7 separate regions of the Homo sapiens genome follow, and all the other regions are linked to region 4. Evidence: promoter capture Hi-C in 16 types of primary human blood cells and fetal thymus (Javierre and others, 2016). All regions are on one chromosome and are shown on one strand. The core of a region is centred on a gene start or on the middle of the fragment in contact, and the rest is flanking DNA. Distances in the headings are between cores, read along the strand shown.

What was found. The method cuts DNA at HindIII sites, captures the fragments that hold promoters and counts their contacts. A CHiCAGO score of 5 or more calls a contact.
Region 1: a contact is called between a fragment that was not itself captured here and the fragment with the promoter of POLB in region 4, in 2 of 17 cell types (naive CD4 T cells and total CD4 T cells). The highest score is 5.7, in naive CD4 T cells.
Region 2: a fragment that was not itself captured here is called in contact with the fragment with the promoter of POLB in region 4 in 7 of 17 cell types (naive B cells, total CD8 T cells, naive CD4 T cells and 4 more); the score reaches 9.5 in naive B cells.
Region 3: a contact is called between a fragment that was not itself captured here and the fragment with the promoter of POLB in region 4, in 12 of 17 cell types (naive B cells, non-activated CD4 T cells, total CD4 T cells and 9 more). The highest score is 9.1, in naive B cells.
Region 5: a fragment that was not itself captured here is called in contact with the fragment with the promoter of POLB in region 4 in 6 of 17 cell types (activated CD4 T cells, total CD4 T cells, naive CD4 T cells and 3 more); the score reaches 9.6 in activated CD4 T cells.
Region 6: a fragment that was not itself captured here is called in contact with the fragment with the promoter of POLB in region 4 in 1 of 17 cell types (erythroblasts); the score reaches 5.3 in erythroblasts.
Region 7: a contact is called between a fragment that was not itself captured here and the fragment with the promoter of POLB in region 4, in 1 of 17 cell types (naive CD4 T cells). The highest score is 5.1, in naive CD4 T cells.

The regions. Positions count from the first base shown.
Region 1 is chr8:41,923,216-41,926,503 of GRCh38, reverse strand. No RefSeq gene overlaps it. Among named protein-coding and RNA genes, the nearest start is that of KAT6A-AS1, 130 kb to the left of the region's middle. The HindIII fragment of the contact is 1,896 bases long and covers 981-2,876 here.
Region 2 is chr8:41,945,585-41,949,002 of GRCh38, reverse strand. KAT6A (lysine acetyltransferase 6A) reads left to right here. Exons shown (of 17, transcript NM_006766.5): 11 at 1,091-1,252; 12 at 2,319-2,412. Among named protein-coding and RNA genes, the nearest start is that of KAT6A-AS1, 100 kb to the left of the region's middle. The HindIII fragment of the contact is 4,864 bases long and covers 1-3,418 here.
Region 3 is chr8:41,963,432-41,966,668 of GRCh38, reverse strand. All of the region lies in intron 8 of KAT6A (lysine acetyltransferase 6A), which reads left to right. Among named protein-coding and RNA genes, the nearest start is that of KAT6A-AS1, 87 kb to the left of the region's middle. The HindIII fragment of the contact is 2,712 bases long and covers 571-3,237 here.
Region 4 is chr8:42,337,092-42,340,619 of GRCh38, reverse strand. It overlaps POLB (DNA polymerase beta), which reads right to left and starts at 2,126. Exons shown (of 14, transcript NM_002690.3): 1 at 1,935-2,126; 2 at 1,551-1,608. The coding sequence starts at 1,995. The HindIII fragment of the contact is 11,887 bases long and covers 1-3,528 here.
Region 5 is chr8:41,987,909-41,991,434 of GRCh38, reverse strand. The region is part of intron 2 of KAT6A (lysine acetyltransferase 6A); the gene reads left to right. Among named protein-coding and RNA genes, the nearest start is that of KAT6A-AS1, 62 kb to the left of the region's middle. The HindIII fragment of the contact is 9,711 bases long and covers 1-3,526 here.
Region 6 is chr8:42,803,028-42,806,459 of GRCh38, reverse strand. No RefSeq gene overlaps it. Among named protein-coding and RNA genes, the nearest start is that of CHRNA6, 36 kb to the right of the region's middle. RefSeq lists an enhancer at 2,344-2,503. The HindIII fragment of the contact is 1,993 bases long and covers 1,039-3,031 here.
Region 7 is chr8:41,828,586-41,831,890 of GRCh38, reverse strand. It overlaps a transcript of ANK1 not described here. Among named protein-coding and RNA genes, the nearest start is that of ANK1, 33 kb to the right of the region's middle. RefSeq lists an enhancer at 3,006-3,305. The HindIII fragment of the contact is 1,406 bases long and covers 1,287-2,692 here.

The DNA.
Region 1 (3,288 bases), core at 679-3,178, 410 kb after region 4:
AGTCTGACTCTGTCACCTAGGCTGGAGTGCAGTGGCGCTATCACAGCTCACTGCAGCCTTGACCTCGTGGGCTCAAGTGATCCTCCCACCTCAGCCTTTCCAAATGCTATAGTTTTCTTTGTAAATGAAGGTTAATAAAGCAGTTGTAGTCAATTACATCAAAATGATTGAATTTGATCATAGTTTTCCAAAGAAAATGAAAACATTGACAAAGAGACAGTGATTAAGGCTTTACTAATAAAGGCAAGGACTTCTTGCAAATGGGATAATTACATGATTTCAAAGAAGTTTGTCTTACCTCCTGTTTAGAGAAAACAGCTAAAATTAACTAGAACTAACCTGACATTCTCAAAGGATGATTGAAAGCTGTAAATCTGAAAGCTGAATAATATGTATTATTGCAAGAACAACTTTAAAAGGTCAGGGAAGTAGTTCAATTAAAAGAACAGAGGAATACAAAGCAAAGCAGACTCAAGCCAGCTACTGCCACTCACCTTTGCTGAGTCTCAGCACAGGGATCTCAGGTTGCAGTGCTGCTGCTATCAGGCAACTCCCCGCTCCGTGGGGTCTGCCTTGCTGCCAGCGGACTGCCATCTAAACTGCTTTCCTCTGCAGCCTCAGGTGTCACACGAAGACATGAAAATGCCCATGCAATAAGATGGACTTGGTTCCCTTACATCTTTTTTAAACCCCTTGTTATTGTGAAAATAAAGCACATACAGAAAAGTCAATAAAACACATATAGCTGAATGCATTTGTCTAAAGTGAATACCTCTCTAAAAATAAATCAGGCTGCAAAATAGAACTGCAGCTCAGTAGTCCCTCCACTGTGGCTTGGAGGGCCCTTCCTAAGCACAGTCTACCCTCCCAAGCGGAAATGATCACCATCCAGGCTTAGGCGGTAAATCTTTTTCTTGTATCTTACTACCTAGGTGTGCATTCTTAAGCATCATAGCTTCACTCTATCTTGTTTTGAAGCTTACAGAAATGGAATCATACAGTTTGCATCTGGCTTCCCTCAACATGTTCGTGAGATTTGTTTATGAAGTTGGACGTTGCTGTAGTTCATTTATTTTCACTGCTGTATAATATTATATGACTACAAAAAATGTATACATTCTAAAGTTGACAAATATGTAGGTTTCAGTTTGGTTTATTACCAATGATACTGCTGTGTTTAATCCCACATACATCTGGTGCACATTTGCAGACATTGCTCATAGGTATGCTCCTAAAAGGTGAATTGCTGGATGATCAGGCAGGTGTAACTCCAGCTGTACCACCTAACGCCAGACTCAAAAGTAACCATTCCGTTTCTTGTTGTTGGCCCCCATTAGCCGTGTATGAAAGTTCTTGTTATTCCACATTCTTGTCAATACTTGATATTTTCAAATATTTCAATTTCTGCCAGTCTGGTGTGTGTGTAGTGGAATCTCTGTGATTTTCTTTTGCATTTCTCTGATTACTAATGAAGTTGAGTACCTTTTCATATGCTTAGTGGCTATTTGAGATTCCTCATTTGTGAAGAGTGTGTTTAAGTCTTGTGCCTGGATCGTTATTGAATTGCCTTTTTCTTATTGATTTATAGGAGTACTTTATATACTTTGAATAAGAGTCTTTGGTCAGTTACTTATGTCACACGTATCTTCTGCCATTCTGGGACTTGCCCTTTCACTTTAAGGGTATCTTTTGATGAACATAAGTTTTTAGTGTGTTCCAAGTTCAGTAGTATCTTCCTTTATGGGTAGTGCTTTTTTCTGTGTGGGTTGGGAAATCTTTCCCTACTCTGAGATTATAATGGTTTTATCTGATATTCTCTAGTTTCTAACAGCTTATTTTGCTTACATTGTTAAATCTTTAAAGTATCTGAAATTGATTTTTGTTCATGGCATGAGGTAGGGACCAGTTTCATCTTTTCCCCATGTGGAGACACGGTTCTGACAGCACTATTTCTTTCTCCACTGCTCTATGTCAAGTGTCCATATACGCATCAGCCTATTTCTGGACGATTTATTCTGCTTCATTGATCTCTATGTCTATTCTGGTTTGATTACTGTAGCTACAAAATAAATCTTCATATTAAGTAAAGCAAGTCCTCCTCCTAAGTTGTTTTTCTTCTCAGAAGTGATTGACCCTTCTAGGCTTTGTGCATGTCCATATATTTTTAGAATTAACGTATTAGATTCCTAAATGATCATAATGACATTTTATTTTGATTGCATTTATTCTAAAAATCAATTTAATGAAAATTGACAACAGTATTGATTCTTCCATTCACCGAACATTATATCATTTTTTCTTTTTTTGGTCTTACGGCACTGGCTCAGTACAGTGTTGAAGTCATTAGAGCAGGCATACCCTTAATCACATGAAGGAATATCCATTCAATTCCTAGTTTCCTAAGAGTTTTTATCATAAAAGGATGTTGAATTTTATCAAACACTTTTTCTGCATTATTGGAAAGGCATGATTTTTTTCTCTCATACACACATGCATTGCATACACTTAAACACAAGACAATTTCATATCAATTAGGAAGGGATAAATGGAGTTAAAGTGCTTCAACGTCTTTCAATGTCTTGATTAATATTACTGAGAAATTAAAGATACTTTTTTTGAAAGATGCATATTTTAATTTCCAGGGTAATCACTAAAAGAACAGAAACAGTGTGTAATTCCAAAATAATACAAGGAGAAAATGGAATGATAAAATGTGAAAAATAATCTGAAAGAAGGGAACAAAGGAGAGAAAAGACACAAGTAAATAGAAAAGACATTATAAATAGACTTAAACCCAAATATATCAGTAATTAAGTGATTTGTAAATGGACTAAATATTCCATTTAAATGACACAGATTATTAGAAAAATAAAGCTTAAAAACCTTATATGCTGTTGATAAGAGAAACATCAAAAACATAAGAAAAACATAAGTTAAAAAAATAGAAAAACTATGTTAGGAAATCACTAACAAAAGAAAGCATTAGTATAGGTATATTAATATGAGACAAAATAGAATTTAAGGCAAAAAGGATTACCAAAATAAAGAGGGTTAAAAATGGTAAAAGTTTTAATTCATCAGGAAGGTATAAAAATTCTAAATTCATATGGCCTTATTAATGTGATCCTAAAATATATAAAGCAAAAATGGGCAAAACTATAATGAGAGAAAAATCATAGAGGGAGGTTTTCTTAAAAAAAATTAATGTACTTGATTTACTAGACCAGTTTTAGGTTTACAGCAAAATTGAGTAGAAAGTACAAAATGTTCCTTGTCCCCACACATGTA
Region 2 (3,418 bases), core at 411-2,910, 390 kb after region 4:
CATTTAAATGAAAGGATTTCTATCACTTATTTAAAAGGAATATCTCACAGAGATCTGTTTAATAGTAAATCTTGATGATGATGATGATGATGATGATGATGTGTGACCTCTGCTCTGTGATTCTCTATTGCTGTTAGTAGCGCTCTTGATCCTCAGTTCTGTGGTTTTCGTGCCAAGTATTAATTGAGTACTTGCTTATGTGCCGTTTACTTACTGTAACAGTAAAATTTCAGATTGTCAGGATCCCCTCAGTCTCTCACTTTTCTTGGTCCTCCCTAAGACTCTTTTAAGTGATCAGTAGAGGAGTTCTTTACCTTGGGAGAAGCTGGGGTAGGTGTGGTATATACTGTTTGAAGAGAATATTAAACTACCTGGGTTGTTGAGGAGTTCTGTTAGTATCGCAGACAGTGTCTTGGGAGCTAATGTGGGCATCCATTGGCGTTTTGATAGAAAGCTCTGGCAACTCCATGAACACAGACAAGGCTGCCAGGAGCAAAAGAGCAGCAGAGTGCTCCTGGGCCTGGCCAACCTGGAGCCTCATTTACCACATGATTGCTTGAGGAACCCGCTTGGTGCTTCTGCGTGGCAATAGTTAGTACCCCCTTAAGTAGTTTTATCTGGGTTCAAGCCCGATCATGGTAGTCAGATTGCATTGCTTCAGGCAGCTGGCATAGATTAGACTACATAGTTACATCTTCTTTTACCTAATAAATGTATTTTAGAAGGGTTGTATTTAGATCTTTTGTTGTGTTAAGTACTTTGAAAACGAAACTTGCTATCTAAAGGATTGCTACAATTCATCTTTTTATTAAAGCAAAAATTGCTCTTTTAAAACCAGATTATCACTTCCTTATCTGGCTGTTCCTGCTATGTTGAAGGTATGAGGTTTTATATATTTGGTTGTCTTAAAACAGCAGATAGCATAATACTGCCATTTCAAAGGATGGCTTCCAGGTTCCAAAGTGTTCTGGTCATGGACACCTTCTCCTAGTCTGGACTGTGGATATCTAGAGATGCTTTTAACTGATACATATTATTCTAGAACTAAAGAGACCCTCTACTGACTGTTTTGTTCTGTTTATTTCTCTAGGTTGATGGGAATGTGAGTACCATTTATTGTCAAAACCTGTGTCTTTTGGCAAAGTTGTTTCTTGACCACAAAACCCTCTATTACGATGTGGAGCCATTTCTTTTTTATGTACTAACACAGAATGATGTCAAGGGCTGCCACCTTGTTGGCTACTTTTCTAAGGTAAGTATGTCAGCTTAAAGTTTGTTTGAACTCATATAGAAATCTGAAAGAATCTTTGCTGGTTCTCACTCGGGGACACAACAAGATGCAGCACCTCCTAGGTGTCATCTAGCTGTTTGGAAAGAATAGAAGGAACATTTGGAAACTTACCAGGTGCTAGAAGGTGCTTAGTAACATTCAACAACCTATATTCTCCTAGGATTATGGACTGCTGGCAATACTCACGGGGAAGGTTTTAAATGGCTTCTCTTCCCATGGTAATAACATGGAACTTCTGAAATAAACAGTCATTAGCTCTCTGAGTTCTGTCTCAGCTTCAATCTTCTCTTCCTTATTTGAACTTTAGGCATAGAAATAAGAGTAAGAAGGCATTTTGGTTAAAGGATATTTTCTCCTTTTTTAATCTTCCATTCCCTTAGAGGGAGAAAGTTTATTTCTAGTCAGAGAACATAAAAGATATACTTTTATTTAAGCAAGCCTGTGGTAAAATCCAAGTGTATAAAACAGTTAGGGGAAGTACTAGCTTTTTATAAGCATTTATAAGAATTCTTTAGGCTACTTCATTAGTTAGATGTGACTTAAAATATATTCACTCATTTATAAAATTATAAAAGTGACTATTTTGTGTAAAGTTAGATACAACTAATAGGACTGCTCTGAGGAGCACCAGAGCAGGAGAGAAAGAAAACTCTGACATAATTAATGAGTCTTCTCACTTCTAGAGTGGCACACTGATTCATCATTTGTAGCTTTACGGATTGTTTGGGACTCAGATTCCGGTGCTGATCCTTAGGCATTGGCGTACTGTGTTTGAGTTGCAGATGGTGTTGGATGGCATTGTTTTGTTATATATTTTTACTCTCCTGGGATGGTTGCTTTGTGGGTAATGGCAGTGACTTGACATTATCCTATCTTCTCCCAGCTGGGTAGTTGTTTGTTGATGTACGTTGCTATTCCCAAAGGACCAGGGCTGTGGGTTTTGGCCATTAGTCTTTGTTTCTTAATTCACGTTATTATTCACTTTTACCAGCCTGTTTTCAAACTTGACTTGTGTTTTCTCCACCAGGAAAAGCACTGCCAACAGAAGTACAATGTTTCCTGTATAATGATTCTTCCTCAATACCAGCGTAAGGGCTATGGCAGGTTTCTCATCGATTTCAGTAAGGATTATATTAATTTCTCATTGGTCTTTTCCAGTGGACCTTCTCTGTGTGTGTGTGTGTGTGTGTGTGTGTGTGTGTGTGTGTGTGTGTGTGTATATATATATATTTAAAGATTTGTAGGTGCTTTGTTGGCTGCTAGTATCTTTTGTCATATAGCTATATGATTCTTTAAAACCTAAAGCCACTGCTGGACACTGTGGCTCATACCTCTAATCCCAGCACTTTGGGAAACTGGGGTGGGAGGATTGCTTGAGCCCAGTAGTTCAAGACCAGCTTAGGCAACATGGCAAGACCCTGTCTCTACAAAAAATTTAAAAAGTTAGGTGGGCATGATGGCATGTACCTAGGGTTCCACCTACTCAGGAAGCAGAGGTGAGAGGATCACTTGAGTGCCCAGGAGGTTGAAGCTGCAGTGAGCAATGCTACCCCTGCATTGCAGGCCCTAGCCTGGGCCACAGAGCAAGACTCTGTCTCAAAATAAAAATGGAAATAAATAAAACCTAAAGCCACACGTTCCTTTTATTTTGGTTGGACACGAATTTTTTTTTTTTTTTTTGAGAGACAGAGTCTCGCTCTGTCACCCAGGCTGGAGTGCAGTGGCGTGATCTCGGCTCACTGCAAGCTCTGCCTCCTGGGTTCAGGCTATTCTTCTGCCTCAGCCTCCCGAGTAGCTGGGACTACAGGCACCAGCCACCACAACCCGGCTAATTTTTTTGTATTTTTACTAGAGACGGGGTTTTACCGTGTTAGCCAGGATGGTCTCGATCTCCTGACCTCGTGATCCACCCGCCTTGGCCTCCCAAAGTACTGGGATTACAGGCGTGAGCCACCATGCGTGGCCTTGGACACGAAATATTTTTAAACAGCTAATATTGAATAAAATTTTGTGTGATGTGTAGCACATACCTTTAATTTCCTATTGTTCATTTACAATGGAACTCAGTTTCATGCAGTAATACTAATAATACTAAAAACATTGTATAACTACTTCAATTAGAGCTAA
Region 3 (3,237 bases), core at 677-3,176, 370 kb after region 4:
GTTCACAGTATACTAAGATGTGTGAGAATTGGCGCAACCTGAGATGATCACAGAAGCAGCAGTCCTAAGGAATGATGAGGATTTAGGTAGATGGAGAGAACTAGGGCTTATCAGATGGAGTAAACAACATTAACTTCAGCTTTGAGGAAGCAATGACTACTATACAGGAGTCCCCGCGTATCCACCAGTGATACGCTCCAAGATCCCCAGTAGATGCCTGAAACCGTGGACTGTACTGAACCCTGTATGTACTGTATTGTGTTACATGAATGTAGTCTGTCTCTCTCTAAATCTCTTATTGTACTATTGTACTGTACTAACTCTTCTGACGGTGTGAGATGATAAAATTTGCACCGAGGCTGACGACAGGTAACTAGAACCTCGAAAAGCAAAGCTGGGGATAAGGGGAGACTACTATAAATAATTCCAGCTGGAGGGCAAAGACGTATTATCTGTGTATTCCAAGAACCTGCCACTGAGATAGCAAGCAGAAGCTCACATTTATTTGGCACTCACTGCATGAATGGCATAGTGCTGTAAGTTCTGTGCAAATATCAACTCGTTTAAGCTTTTCAACAAATCTGATAGTGACTTGCCCAACTAAGGTGATTCAGCCGAGATAGGATTTGAACTGTGCTAGCCTTTTCTAGTTCCCAGGCTCTTAACTACTATTTTAATAAGTTGTGCTAAATTATCCAATGAACTAAAAATACATCTATGCGGCCTTTAATATGTGACTTATATTTAATGGGTAAATGCCTTAACACAGTAAACATCGCCCCACCTACCATTCCTACTTTCAGCAGCATCAAGGAGACATCACTTAACAGCAAAAAGATGTCATGGGGGTACCTTAAAATCCCGTCATGCCGAAACTGACATCTTGTTACTAGCTTTCAAAATGCTCCAAAATGCAGCTTAATACTAGTAATTCAGTGTATTACCATTGCCCAACAGATGTTCCACCCTGTCTTATCTCAAACTAAACTCCAGCTATTCCTCACTTTGCATGGTGCAATGTTAACTGAAACCCATGCTTATCAAACTAAAGTAGATTGAAGGAACAGGAGATGATCAAAGATGACTTCCAGGTTCTCTGACGCTGTAATAAAAAAAGTGGTTTGAAGCCAGTTGGGAAAGTTCATCTTGGCTAGATAAGAGGATGTTTTGAATAATAAAAAGACTCATAAAGGTAATGCAGAAAGTCATTTTTGAGGGCATAGATACAGCTTAGAAACTGCTTCACCTGTGTTAGGGTTGGCAAAATATGGCCTGTGGCCCAGTCCCATCCACAGCCTGTTTTGTATGACCTGCAAGCTGAGGATGGTTTTAATATTTTTAAACAGTTGGACAAAAATAAAAAGAATAATATTTATGGACATGTGAAAATTATGTGAAAAATGTTAGCGTTCGTAAATAAAGTTTTATTACAACATACAAAAAACCCATGCATATCAGAACTAAGGTCAAATCTGTCACCTCAGAAGCACGGACACAATTCTGATGTGTACCTGTTTCCATTAACACAGTGCCATCAAAAACAAGGACTGCCTGTCTTACAACACCTTTATGGGCAGATACTGTGTTTTCTATATCATCTCCACAGTGTGACTTGCATGTAGTAGGTCCTCAAATATTTGTTGATCTGATGGGCCAATAATCACCCTATCTCCTGTATTTACAGTAATCCCCCTTTTATCTGTGGTTTTGCTTTCCATGGTTTCAGTTACCCTTGGCTTGCCAAGGTCTGAATTTTATTATCATCGTCTCCTCCTCCTCATCATCATCAGAAGGGTGCATACCATGCAATAGGATATTTTGAGAGAGACCACATTCACGTAACTGTTATTACAGTACATCGTTTTAATTGTTCTGTTTTTAGTTATTGTTGTTAATCTCTTACTGTGCCTAATTTATAAATTAAATATCATGGGTATGGATGAATAGGAAAAAACATAGTATATACAGGTTGACTATCCCTTATCCAAAATGCTTGGGACCAGAAGTGTTTTGGATTTTGATTTTTTTTTTTTTTTTTTTTCAGATTTTGGAATATTTGCATCATATGCTTAGCCGTCGAGCATCCTGAATTCAAAATCTGCAGTGTTCTTACGAGCATTTCGTTTGAGTATCATTAGTGCTCAAAACGTTTCAGATTTTGGAGCATTTCAGGTTTCAGATTTTCAGATTAGGGATACTCAACTTGTATAACATTTAATACTATCTGCAGTTTTCAGGTATTCACTGTAGGTTTTGGAAAGGTGTATTCCCAGTGGGTGGATAAGGGGGACTATTGAATAAACAAGTAATTAAAGCCATGTGGTTAGTAATAGATACCCTCTTATTATATGTAAAATACTATATTCAGCATTATATATTAATTTGTTTCATTTAATACAACTTTATTATTAATTACTTGGCCTCATCTTACAAATGAAGAAATGGAAACATTAGAAGGATTGTTTTACCTAGAGTTATAAATTGTTAAGTTTCAGAGTCAATATTTGAACCCTGGTATTCTGACTCCATGGCCTTAACTGCTTAATTTATGATATAGTATTACTGTGGAGATATGCATAAATTGCAGTGAGAATGAACAGGAAGACATCTAGGGATGTTATTGTTCTATTTTTAGTTATTGTGGTTAACTAAAATTTTAAGTCTTTGTAGAGGAGGTGACATTTGTGTAGGGTGCTGAAGGGATGAGTAAGTTTACTATTGGAGAAGAGTGAGAAGGCATTTCTAGTAGCAAGTTTGGGTGTGAGAAATCGTGTATTCTCGGAGCTGTGTGCAGTTGGTTGGAGTTCAAACAAGAGATGATATTGGAGGGGTACTAGATCATGAAGATTTTGTGTTTCATATTAAGGAGTTTGTACTTAATCTTGCAGGTAAAGTAGCTCTTTAAAGTAGTTAAGTAGTAGCTAAATAGCTCTTGAGGAACTGCTAAAGAATTTCTAAAAAGTGGATGACATCATATTTGTATTTTAGAAACTCAAGTCTGGTGATATTGTCAGCAATGGATTGAGGAACACCTGAGCAAGGGACCAGTCAGATGATTACAGTAGTCAAAATGAAAAGTGACTGGGGCCTAAATGAAGGTAGAAGAGATAGATAGGAGACAGAGATAGATAATCGTTTTGAGAAAGACTTAAGATAGAATGGAAAAGACTGCTGTTGGATTGGGAGTTAGGATTGAAGGAGAGGGCAGAACCAAGTAGGTCTTCTAGTGTTCTATTT
Region 4 (3,528 bases), core at 877-3,376:
CTACAGAAGTAAGAAAAGAGGGCTAAGGGCAGGCAGACTCCCCGGAACCACAGGTTAACTATCCCTTATCTGAAATGCCTGGGACCAGCATTGTTTCAGATTTTGAATTTTTTTCAGGGTTTGGAATATTTGCGTATACATAATAAGATATCTTAGGGATATGGGAGATACAAGTCTAAATACAAAATTCAGTCATATTTCTCACACACCTTACGCACATACCCTGAAGGTAATCTTATATAGTCGTTTTAATAATTTTGTGCATGAAACAAAGTTTTGACCATTTTGACTGCCACCTACTACATGAGATCGGATGTGGAATTTTCCACTTGTGTCATCATGTCGGCAATCATCCAGATTTTAGAGCATTTCAAATTTTCAGATTAGGGATGCTCAACCTATACCAACATTAAAAGGTAAGACAGAAGAAGAGATGAAAGACCAGAAAGAGTGCCATTACAGAAGTCAAGAGATATTCACAGCATGAGCCAGGGGTGAATGCCACAGAGAGTCCAATAAGATGAGACGTAGGTGAGCGGATTTTCAGAGCACTGGTAGGTCCAGGCAAGGACTGGGACTTCTTGAGTAAATGATTAGGTATTAAGAAGTCCAGGCAAGGAATGAAGATTTTTCAAGAAGATTCACCATAAAGTGAGAAAAGAGGGAAGGTGCTAGCTAGAGGGAAGTTAAGATTGTTTTGGTTTTGCTTTTAAGAGCTGAGGGACTTGCACATATTTATAGGCTAAGGAGAGCTGACACCGAGGCTGATGCCTGGAATCCCAGCACTCTGGGAGACCAAGGTGTGTGGACCATTTGAGTTTAGGAGTTGGAGATCAGCCTGGGCAACATAGCAAAACCCGGTCTCTACAAAAAAAAAAAGAAAAAAAAAGAAAGAAAAAAAAATTAGCTGGGTGTGGTGGCGTGCGCCTGTAGTAGTCCCAGCCACTCAGGAGGCTGAGATGGGAAGATCACTTGAGGCTGGAAGGTTGAAGCTGCAATGAGCCATGATCATACCACAGCGAGACCCCGTCTCAAATAAAAATAAATAAATAAATAAATATAGGCTAAGGAGTAGAAGCAGGTGGATGTGGAAAGAATGAATAGGATAAGGCCCCTGGTGAGATGAACAAGGACAGGATCCCATGAACAAGGAACAAGGATCAGGATCAGGATCCCACAGGATCAACTTTAGACCAACCAAAAGAAAAAATGTGATTCCTTGAACCACATATATTTCACAGTATGGACTTCATCCGCTGTCTTTCATTACGGTTAAAATTACACCGCATTTCTAGTAATTCATGTTTGATGATGACAAAATACGTATCAGGCTACAGCTATCTGCAATCAGAATTGGGAACTTATCTGAACTGATCCTATAACGCACTGCCCACATTCTTCAAGAAATAGTAAGGTACCAGCCTCGATTCTTGCTTTTTCCCGCTCTTGCAGATGGACCAAATATCCACTGGGCCCTCAGTCCTGTTAATTGCCACACTAAACAGGGTATCCCAGAACGTATGCTACCCGAGAATGCTGCACTGTCCCACCTGTAAGCATTGTACTTGTGGATAGCTTGGCTCACGTTCTTCTCAAAGTTTGCGAGTTCTGAAAGGCAACAGAAGGCTCGGGTGAACAAGAACCACGAGTAAACAAACGAGAACTGTTTTCTGGAAGGGGATATGGCAGCCTCTAAGAGACAGTGACCACCCGTTTCCTCCAAGGGCCAGACCAAAAGCAGCCCAAGCGATGGCCCAGGTGTAGCCGGCAGGACTGACAACCAGCCAGGGGCGCCGGAGGGAGATCCCCACGGAAGACGACCCGCTGCAAGGAACCTACCCTACCCACTGGACTGTCGGTGTGGGAGAGAAGGAAGGCAGGGGAAGAGGCTGGAAGGAAAGAAGAAAGCCAGCGGGGCCCGGCCCGGTGCTAACCTGTGAGCATGTCGGTGATTCCCCCGTTGAGAGTCTCCTGCGGCGCCTTCCGTTTGCTCATGGCGGCCTGCACCCGAGAACCCCAGAGTGTTCAGAACCAGGGACTAGAGCCCTCTCCCAGCTTGAAGGAGGTACCAGGACTTGGAGACGGGAGCAGGAGCAACCCAGCTCCGGCGCGACCGGCGGAACAATGGTTGCCCCCGATGGGGGGCGGGGCGCACGGCGCTTGTTGTGACGTCACGCGTCCTGGGCGGGGCGGGGCGGGGCTAGAGGGGCGAGCCCTCGGCAGGTGAGGAGAGAGAACTCGGAGGGTTCGTGGACTCGTGGACGTGGACACGGCGCGGGGGAAATAGGCACCTCAGAATGACAGCCCAGGGGCCTTCCTATGGGAAGACCTGGAGTTTTGACCTAAGATATTAAATCTGTTTTCTCAGTGTTTATCTGGAATCCTTTCCCTAGAAGGGGAAACGGGAGTGCGATCTTGATTCTGAAATACTTGCGCTGGTGGGGTAGCTTCCTGCACAAAAATGTGCACTGTAATAGCTACCCAATGCATGGCGCGTTTTGTACGTGGTTAGAGGCGACACTGGCGTCACACTGTCAAAACTTTCTCTAAGGATACCGGGCAGTCCACACTCCAGTGCAGCCCCTTACGTACTAGGGCGCTGCCGGAGCCCGGCGTGAACCATGCCGAGAACAGGAATCCTCCCGCACACGTGTTAGTACACCTGCCAACCAGTGTCAAAAGATATTTTATTTTTAATCCCCCTGCCTTTGCGGTAGGGACCAAATTAATGAAGAGACCACAAGAAAGGGAGAAGTGTTTCATCTAGATCATGAGCAATGGAACCCTAATTATAACATGATGACCTACATCTGAGAAATTTACAGTCTGCTTGAGAAATGGAAATGTCACATCAGCAATAGTTTATTTTACAAGCGTAACTCCTGGGTTCATATCGAACTGCAATTCCAGGCAATTGCTTTGTGCATCGAAAAATTAAAATTTATTACAAAATGATACGTAGTTGCTGTAGAGAAATCTGGAAAAATGTATAAAAGGAGAAAATTAAAATCAGTGATCTCACCCTACAGCTGAACTATTAATATTTTGGGACGTACACTTCTAGTCTTCTAACCCAGTCTATTAAAAATTCCCATTATTTTCCAATAAATATCATTAGTTTCTTTGATTAGCAAGGTTGTGGTGATTGTGTTTCCTTACAATATCAGTGTATATCTTAAGTTATGCTTATTGGAAATCTGTAATTCTTCTTTTTTTGAATTTCCTATTCATATCATTTACCATTTTCCTAATGGGGGTAGTTTGTTACTAATCTGGTAGATCTTTTCTATATATTACTACTTGCCCTTTTATGGATAGCTTTTGTAAAAATTTTGTACATATTTGTATTTTCCTCAATTTATTACTTGAGGAATAAAAGTTAAAAAAACTTTATGCCTGCAACTTAACTATCTGATTAGTTAAGCTGCAGTGAGCAGTGACCACTCTCATTTACTCTTTATACTCTCATTTACATATATGACTTGTCCTAGTTTTCCCTGTTCACACTTTTTTCTGTCCAATCTCTAT
Region 5 (3,526 bases), core at 930-3,429, 350 kb after region 4:
TAACAATGTAGAACTATATTTGAACATTACATTAAAAAAATGTACAGGATGTATTCTTTTTTCTGTTCTTTCAATATAGTTTGTGATATTCATCCATGTTGTTGGCAGCATTTGTTTATTTTTATTACTGTTTAACATTCTACTGTATGAATACAGCACAGTTTATCTGTTTAACCACCTAATTATTTGGGTAAATTTTGTTTGAATAAAATGTATTATTATGAATAATGCTGCTCTGAACATTTTGGTGTATGTTTTATTAATATGTACTTCAATTGTGTATATAGCTAGGAGTGGAAGTGCTGGATCATGTGGTATGGACATGTTCAATTTTAGTAGATAACGTCAACATTTTCAAATTGGTCTTGTCAATTTATATTTATATTCCTGTCAGCAGTGCATGTGTTGTTCCACCTTTTTTTTTTTTTTTTTTTTTTTTTGAGACGGAGTCTCGCCCTGTCACCCAGGCTGGAGTGCAATGGCACAATCTTGGCTCACTGCAACCTCTGCCTCCCAGGTTCAAATGATTCTTCTGCCTCAGCCTCCTGACTAGCTGGGATTACAGATGCCCGCCACCATGCCCAGCTAATTTTTTGTGTGTTTTTAGTAGAGACGGGGTTTTACCATGTTGGCCAGGCTGGTCTTGAACTCCTGACCTTGTGATCCGCCCGCCTTGGCCTGCCAAAGTGCTGGGATTACAGGTGTGAGCCACTGCACTTGGCTGTTGTTCCACTTTTTAATCAACCCTTAATATCAGTGGTCTTCATAATTTTAGCCATTCTCGAAAGTCTATTTTCTTGGTGACTAATGAGGTTGAACATCTTTCCTTATGTTTGTTGGCCTTTCATGTGTTATTCATGTATTTTCTGTGGGAAAGTACCTGTGGAAGTCTTTGCCATCTCTGTTGAACTGTCCGCCTCTTCCTTACTGCAATGTAAAAAGTTCTTTATGCTGGATATGGGCCATTTGTTGGTTAAATTTGTTGTTAATGTCTTACATTCTGTGGCTTGCCTTTTCATTTTCTTAGTGCTGTCTTCCCAGTCTCTTGTCTTCCTTACTATGCTTCTCTCCCCAAAGCAATTAGCCATCAAGTCCTGACAATTTTATCTTTTAATATCTTTTATCTTCTTTTCTCCATTTCTTTGCTCAGCGCCTTAATACAGTCCTTCTTTGCTCATGGCCTGGATTATAGATCACATCCCTTGCAATCAGTTTTTAACTGCTTACAGAATGACTTTTCTAAAATTTAAATCTTGGCCGTACTATTCCTCTGCCTAAAATCTCCCAGTTGTACCTTAGAGGCTACAGAATAAAGCTCAAATCTCATGACTGGCTTCTACCTTCTTCCTAGGCCTTCTTTAGAGTTGTTGGGTTTTTTTTTTTCCCCAGATTTTTACTGCTGGATAAAGTCTTTCCTGACTTACTTCCCCAGTTCTTTTTTCATACTCCTTTTTGAGGAAAGGATGTGGTAGTCTTAATTATGATTAAGCCATAATTATTAAGACAACTAGCCGTTCATCTCTCAGTCTCTTGGCTGAGCACTACTGTTAGCTTATTTGTGTTGGATGTTTTGATATTGGTGTTCCACCCAACTCTCTCATTAATCTGTTTGCTTTTCTGGCTTATTCTCTGCCAGCCACTTAATTATTGGTATTCTCACCTTAGCTCTCTTCTTCATACCTTTCTCCGTGAGAAAACTCATCAATTCTGATGGCTTTAATGCCATTTTGTATGTATATGACTTCTAGATTTTTAAATCCAGACCAGTCTCTGTCTTAAATTTCAGATCTCTCTGTATTATATTGTCAGTGGGTATTGCTACATGAATGTTACATAAGTATTTTTTATTTTTTATTTTAGTTATGTTATGTTACGTCACGTCACGTCACGTCACGTCACGTCACGTTACGTTATGTTATTTTTCCGAGATGGACTCTTGCTCTTGTCACCCAGGCTGGAGTGCAATGGTGCGATCTCGGCTCACTACAACCTCTACCTCCCGGGTTCAAGCGATTCTTCTGCTTCAGTCTCCCGAGTAGCTGGGATTACAGATGCATGTCACCACGCCTGGCTAATTTTTGTATTTTTAATAGAGACAGGGTTTCACCATGTTGGCCATGCTGGTCTCAAACTCCTGACCTCAGGTGATCCGCCCGCCTCGGCCTCCCAAAGTGCTGGGATTACAAGCGTGAGCCACTGTGCCCGGCTACATAAGCATTTTTAAGCTCAGTAAGCCCCAAACTAAGCTCACCTTCCCTTCCCAAACCTGATTGTGTATTTTCTACCTTTTTGAACACCTTTTTGAACCTGGTGGGGCTGCCTGTTAAATACTTCTGGAAAAACTTAAGTCAAAGGGTACTTTTGTGAAAGTACCTCCTTCCCCACTTTCCTCCTGTTTTCTATTACTATAGTTCTATCATGGTACCTACAAACATTTTATTGTACTTTATCTGTTCTCCCCAGTAGACTAAAAGCATCTCGATACTTTGTCCTTGGGGAAGCAAGCAAATCAATGAACCAATGAATGAATGCATCTTGAGGGTTTTCCATTGCCATCCTGCACAGTGCCTAGCATAAACAGTTGAGAGGTGACTGAGGGTACCTCCAACTAAACACATTTAAAATGGAACTCACCAGTTTCCTCCAAATTGCTTTCCTCCAAACTTTCTGCTTTAAAATGACTTGCTGTGCACAGTTGATAGCGTCACCATCTTTTCAGTTCACTTAGTCATATTTAACTCACTTTGTTTTTCTGCTACTCTCAAAACTGGTTTTAAGCCCATTGCTATTTCTTCTATTTCATTTCCTTAGCTTTGGTTCAAGTTCTCATCTTGTCTTCACCAGATCATTGTAACCACTGTTTAAATGTTTTACCTATCTTTGGAGTTTTCCCCGTTTGTCTTTGATATTGCTACAATAATTATTTTTCTCCAAGTGATTATCTCCTGGTTCTGTAAACTTGCCTATAGGATAAAGTCCAATTTTAAAAAAATTTATTTTCGTTTTAAAGCTGTATTTAGGTATAATTGATATATAAAAAGCAAATATTTAATGTATACATTTTAATGAGTTTGAGAGTCCAACTTCTTTACCTTCGGTGGCAGTCTTCACGAACTTATCTAGCTTCTTTCTTTTATTTTTTTTCCCCTCCCTTATAGCAGAAGCTATGTGCTTTAAGCATTGGCCTTACCAGACTGCACACCTAAGTCTATGCTACTTATACTACCTCTATTGCCTTCTCTCCATCACTCTTAGGAGGAACATAGATTAAACAAACCACTCTTAACATTTGTTAGCTACTGTCCTTGGACAAGTTTCTAAAGATCCCAAAACATAATACTGATGCTTAGTACATGTTGTTTTCCCCTTTCAACCTTTCCCTTCCTCCACACCACAGTTGGAATTTCTTTTTCGTACTGCTAGAAAACACTTACTGTTTCTCTCACTTAATGTCTTCTGCCGAGGAGTCACTGTGTCTGTTTACTTGTATATATCTTACTGCTCTTGTACTAGATCACATGCTTTT
Region 6 (3,432 bases), core at 786-3,285, 470 kb before region 4:
TGAGGTGGGAGGAGCTCTTGAGCCTGGGAGGTCCAGGCTTCAGTGAGCTATGATGTGCCACTGCACTTCCAGCCTAGGTCACATGAGATCCTGTCTCAGAGAAAAATAAAATGAGTATGAACAAATAAATGATGGCAGCTCCACAAATAGAATTCTAGACAGCAGTGAAAATGATTATACTGCTAAATGTAGATGACTCTCATAAACATGTTGGTTTTAAAAGTAACCTACAGAAGATTCCATACAATTATATCATTTATACAAATTTTATGCAAAACAATACCAGTGTTGCTTAGTGATACATACATATGGACAACAATTATAAACAAATGTGTTGGGATGATAAACATATAATTCAAAGTACCGGATACTTTTGAGTAGGAGGGAGATGCAATTAGGGAGGAGTATGCAGGAGATTTCAAACTTCATTAATAATATTTTATTTCTTGGCCAGGAGCGGTGGCTCACACATGTAATCCCAGCACTTTGGGAGGCCGAGGTGGGCGGTTCACTTGAGGTCAGCAGTTCGAGACCAGCCTGGCTAACATGGCGAACCCTCGTCTCTACCAAAAATACAAAAATTAGCCGGGCATGGTGGCATGAGCCTATAGTTCCAGCTACTCGGGAAGCTGAGGTGGAAGAATCACTTGAACCGGGGAGGCGGAGGTTGCAGTGAGCCGAGATCGCGCCACTGCACTCCAGTCTCCTGGGCGACAGAACGAGACTCCGTCTCAAAACAAAACAAAACAAAACAAACAAAAAACATCATAAATGTCAATGCGCACACCACCCAGCTTTAGAAATAATTTCCTCTGTCGCCCAGGAGGCAGTGGCGCGATCTCGGCTCACTGCAGCCTCCGCCTCCCAAGAGTTCAAGCGATTCTCTGCTGCAGCCTCCCGACTAGCTGGAAATACAGACGTGTGCCACCAGGCTAATTTTTAAAAATTATTTTCACAACAACCTCTGGTTCTAATATACCACATCTTATTCAGAATTTTTTCATTGCAAGGAACAGCCAGTAGGTGGCAGGGGAAGCTTGGTATTTGCTGTGTCTGACAAAACAACCTTCCCCCCAACCCGCAATCACATAAACGTAAGGCTTCCTTTAAAGTCACTGATCACATGTCACTTTCCAAAATAAAATGAATTAGCTAAAACCATTGCTTTCCTTATTCATGAATATTTGCATTCTGGTATTCATTGTTCCTAATAGTAACACTATGATCTTTTGAAACATTATTAAACTTTCCAGTGGGGCAACTGGTTTTTATCCCCTGGTGCCACTACAGCAATGCTTCTGTGAAACAGGCTGCCACCGCAGGTTCCGACAACAGGGTTATTGCAGCATGTGCATGGGGGTGCAGTGGGGGAGTGGGACTGCAAAAACGGCAGCCATCTCATGCCTGAGTTCCTACCCATCTCGCTGACCTTGGGTGCAGACCGTCAGGCACATTGCTGAAATCTGCTTTCACACTCACTCCTAAGAACGTTCTTATTTTCTATGGGGGGTGAGGGAGGTGGCAAATGCCACATAAATATCTTGCTTTATGTAGAGCAACTAAGCAATACAGACTAGCTCAGCAAAATGATCTGTCTGCATATTTTCCTAAATAAAACAGCAACCGAAGACATCTTCTATTTTCTGCTTAGGGCCGAATTAGAAAATTATTGCAGGCCGGGTGCGGTGGCTCACGTCTGGAATCCCAGTACTTTGGGAGACCGAGGCGGGCCGATCACTCGAGGTCAGGAGCTCAAGACCATCCTGGCCAACATGGTGAAACCCCACCTCTACTAAAAATACAAAAATTAGCCAGGCATGGTGGTGCATACCTGTAATCCTAGCTACTTGGAGGCTGAGGCATCAGAATCATTTGAACCTGGAAAGCAGAGGCTGCAGTGAGCTGAGATCACGCCACTGCATTCCAGCCTGGGCCACAGAGTGAAACTCCATCTCAGGAAAAAAAGAAAAGAAAAGAAAGGAAAATTATTGTGGGTCATGGTCTGAATCTGGCCGGCGGATGTATTTTGTGGGGCTACTGCCATTTGAAGTGTGTTTTTAATTGGTCAAAATTAAAAATTCAGGAGAGATCACATAGAATTAAGATTTTAGGTTTCTCTTAAAAAAAAAAAAAAGCAAAACATATTCTGGCAATGCCTTTCCATGGGGCCCAGTGAGCAGGAACAGAGCCAGGCTGACCCTGCCTCTGGAAGGGGAATATGTGGCTGTCTCACCCAGGCCTTGCACTCCTGGCTATCTGTTGTTTTGCCCTGACAAAGACTCTCCTTATCCAAACTCTGGCCAGGCTCCTCTGAGCCCTTTCTCCACTGGACCTCAATGTTGGCCTAGCAAGAGTTGAGCAAAACACTGACCCAGTTTCTAGCAGCTTAAAGCCACTTCTCTAGGATGTCCCCAGAGGAAAAATGCCTGCCTGAGGAAACTCAAGCTGCCAAAAGAATTACTGACTCCCAACCTCGGTGGGGGCATAGGAGCCTAACTTGGGTAACACTAGGCCCTCATTCCTGCTTTTCATAACTTTTCACTTCCCTCAGTCTACTGAGCCCCTGCTCACTCACTTCACTGCTCCCTCATTCTCTCTTTAAAAACTCCCAGTCACCTCTGTACAAATCGAGGTTGAGCTCAATTCATGCTAGACTCTCTCTGTTACTGAACCACCAGGGTTTCAGTCTCCGTCCTGCCGCAAGCTGCACAGAAAGCCAATGAACTGGGACCACCAGTAATGCCAAGGAAGAAGGCGTTAATCCAGTGCTATGGCCGAGGAGATGGGGACTCAGCCTCAAATCCATCTCCCTGACCCACTAAAACTAGGGGTTTCTATAGCAGGGAGGGAATGTAACAATGTGTAAGAAAACAGGAACTTGGGAGGGCCAAGGAGGCAATCATGATGAATGAAGGGTCCAACTCATTGTCAGGATGTGGTGATCTGGTGAGTTTCAGTTCCCTGATACTTTTTTTGAGCAGCCTGAAGGTCCATTCCTGAGGAAAGAACTCAGATAAAACAAACGTAAGCTTCAAGCTTTAAGACCAGAAGGGTCCATTTCTGTGTCTATCCAAAAAAAACTGGCTGGGTGCGGTGGCCCGCGCCTGTAATCCCAGCACTTTGGGAGGCCGAGATGGGTGGATCATGAGGTCAGAAGTTCAAGACCAGCCTGGCCAAGATGGTGAAACCCTGTCTCTACTAAAAATACAAAAATTAGCCGGGCGTGGTGGTGGGCGCTTGTAATCCCAGCTACTCAGTAGGCTGAGGCAGAGAATTGCTTGAACCTGGGAGGCAGAGGTTGCAGTGAGCTGAGATCGCGCCACTGTTCTCCAGCCTGGGCAACAGAGCAAGACTCCATCTCAAATCCCCCCCTACCCCAACCAACTTAAATGTCAATAAGACTTTTTTTTTTTTTTTAAAAAACAAGGTTGT
Region 7 (3,305 bases), core at 740-3,239, 510 kb after region 4:
GCACCCGTGTTGCTGTGTGAATCCATATTCGCTCCTTAGTAGCACTCCACTGTACGAGGTGCTGCGGTTGGTCTATTCATTCACACGCTGAGGACGTGTGGGTTGACTCCAGTCTGGGGCGGTGATAAATAAAAATAAAGCTGCTCTGCAAATTTGGGTACAGGTACCTTCTTAATGGTCCTTCCTTCCTTCCTTCCTTTTCTTTCCTTTCATTCCTTTTTTCTTTTTCTTCTTCTTTTTTTTTTTTTTTTGACAGACTTTTGCTCTGCACTGGAGTGCAATGGCGCAATCTTGGCTCACTTGTAACCTCCAATTCCTGGGTTCAAGCAATCCTTCTGCCTCAGTTTCCCGAGTAGCTGGAACTACAGGCATGTGCCTCCACACCCCACCAATTTTTGTAGTTTTAGTAGAGATGGGGTTTCACCATGTTTTCCAGGCTGGTCTTGAACTTTTGACTTCAAGTGATCCGCCCACCTTGGCCTCCCAAAGTGCTGGGATTACATGCATGAGCCACCATGCCCGGCAAACATGGGTTTTCATTTATCAGGTAAATACCCAGGAGTGGGATTGCTGGGTCATGTGCAAAGTATGTTACTGTTAGAAGAAGAAACTCTTGGGGCTTGAGGTATGAGCGCCCGCAGCTGCCCACACTTTTCAGATGATAGCCCCAGATTGCTGAGGGGCTTTCGGTTTTACAGATGGGGAAATGGAGGCCTTGAGAGGTCAGATGACGAGTCCATAGTTTTAAGGAAGGTCGTCGTCAAGGTCCAGGCGGAGCCTCGTCTCCTGTCTCCCAGGCCGCTGTGCTTTCGTCTGTATCTCAGTTCCCTTCATCATCTGTTGCTGCAAGCTTATTCTCATGGGATCCGTTTATGGGACACATTGGGCCACCAACAATTAGCCTCTCCATGCACTGATAAGGAATGTGACCAAAAAGATTAATCCATTTGGTGAGGTGACCAAGTGATTATGTAAACAGCCGTGTTGATGAACAGAATCTATCTTCAAAGGTTATGACAGTATTATACACACAGCCCTCACGCTGGGCATTTGGCTTGATGGAGCTGTCTGCAAAATTATTCTTCAATGATTCATCTACCAAATTATTCTTCTCAGACCTTTTCAAGCAGAACCGACACAGAACTGGTGTCTGCGTTTCTTTGGCACTGGGTAGGTAGGAGCTGTTTGCTTTTCTTACTCGCTTCTGACTCCCTTTGCCTTGGGATTTGGGTCCTATCCCCGAAAGCCCTAGTCCCAGACAACCTTTTCTTTACCTGCTTCAAGCTTAGAATCAAGAGAGCAGTTCCTGACACTCCCTGGGAATCTTGGCTTTACCACAATTCTAGCTTTTGAACATTTCAATGGAGGATTAATTGTTATTCATGCTGTCATTGTTATGTAGGTCATTTTTTCTTTGGATCAAGTTGACGGGATTTTATCATCTGTGGAAAGCAGCCATATACCAGAATGAAGAATACTTTTGATTGATGATTTAGCTTAAAAATAGTTTCCTCTTTTAATAAGCCTCATTCGGGAACAAATGACCCCAGAGGGAAACTGGGTGCTTATCTAGTAGCCTATGTATTTTGCAGAGAATTTCTAGAAATGTGTGTATTTTGAAGAAAAGAAGAGGGGCTTTGGCTGTTTGGTCCTGGAGATGGGTCTAGGAGCCTGGGGTGGGGGCATCTATTGGTCTCTCCTAGCTGACCCCTGCCCAGAGAACTGCAGTGCCCCTTGCCCAAATAAAAGGTATGCCCGAGTGGCTGAGTGGGTGTTTCTAGTTGGATTACTGCAGGCTCAACATTAGATTCACCAAATCATTATTTAGTACTTGCTCTGTGCTGGGCAAAATTTCATTGATGTTATCGGAGGAATATCTAGGCAAAGAGAGGAGACCTCACTTATAAAAACTAAAGGCCTTGTCACGTCAGATTTTTTTTTTTTTTTTTTTTTTTGAGACAGAGTCTCGCTCTGTCGCCCAGGCTGGAGTGCAGTGGGGCGATCTCGGCTCACTGCAAGTTCAGCCTCCTGGGTTCAAGCCATTCTCCTGCCTCAGCCTCCCAAGTAGCTGGGACTACAGGCGCCCGCCACCACGCCCGGCTAATTTTTTGTATTTTTAGTAGAGACGGGGTTTCACCGTGTTAGCCAGGACGGTCTCGATCTCTTGACCTCGTGATCTGCCTGCCTCGGCCTCCCAAAGTGCTGGGATTACAGGCATGAACCACTGCGCCCGGCCCAGATTTCTTTTTAAAAGGCAGTTAGGGATGGCAGTCTTAGACAATGAGCTCCCCTAGTGCCCTTCCAATGGAGAAGCACAACGAGAATCTAATTTGTAAATACCAGGTCTTACACGGTGAGTGGGACTAGGAGAAGGCATCGACTGCACGCTGGGGTCAGTTGCCTGGGAGCGAATCCAGCTCCACTCCCTGCTGTGGCCTTGAGCAAGTAGCACTTAACCTCTCTGAGCCTCTTTCTGCATCTGAAAAATGGGATTGGTCATAAGGTTGCGATGGGCATGTGCCCCCTGAGAAACATCAGTAAGGTGGCAAGGGTGGCGAAGACGCTGTTCCTCGGGTTTTGTTCCAGCGACGAAAGCTAAGTTCATCAAGCCACAAGAAGAAATCTCAGATTTTTTTTCCCCCTAGGAAATGTGAAAATTGAAGGTTTCCTTTGAAGCCTTGTGGCAGAAGCTTCTGAAAGCCGAGTCACAGATCTTGCACAGTGCTGTCCCAAACGCCGCTGATGTGCAAACGGTGGCCCCCGTCCCCGTAGGGAGGCCAGAATGGGACAGCAGAGATTGCGGCAGGGTGTCCGGTGAGCAGGGGACCCTCACGGACCGGTCTAGACGCGAGACTAGGATTTATTTATTAATTCTTTCAACTGCGGCGGTGGAATCAAGATGGCCTAGAGGGCGCCAGGGGGCGCTCTGGAGAGGACGGGCGGCAGATCCGAATGGGCCCCGAGGAGGGCGGCGCCCCGGGTCACGCGCGACTTCTGCGGAACCCGCCTTTGCCGCGCAGTTTTCGGGATTCGCGGGAAGAAGGCGCAGCCTCCCAGGCCCAACTCTCTCCCCAGCACTTTCGCGTGGAAAATCTTCAGGAAAATGAAATGTAGCTCCCCGTATGCCCTCTCCCCAAAGATGTAAAGGACTCTGGAGCGGGCGCGAGGAGCAGTTCCTGTTTCATTACGAGCGCCCCCTCTCCAGCCCGGTCATTGTAGTGCGAACCAGAACAATCAAATTAACAGAGGCACTCAGGAGCCTTTTAGTGCTACTGTTCCAGGAACTGAAGAGGCCTCGGTATGGG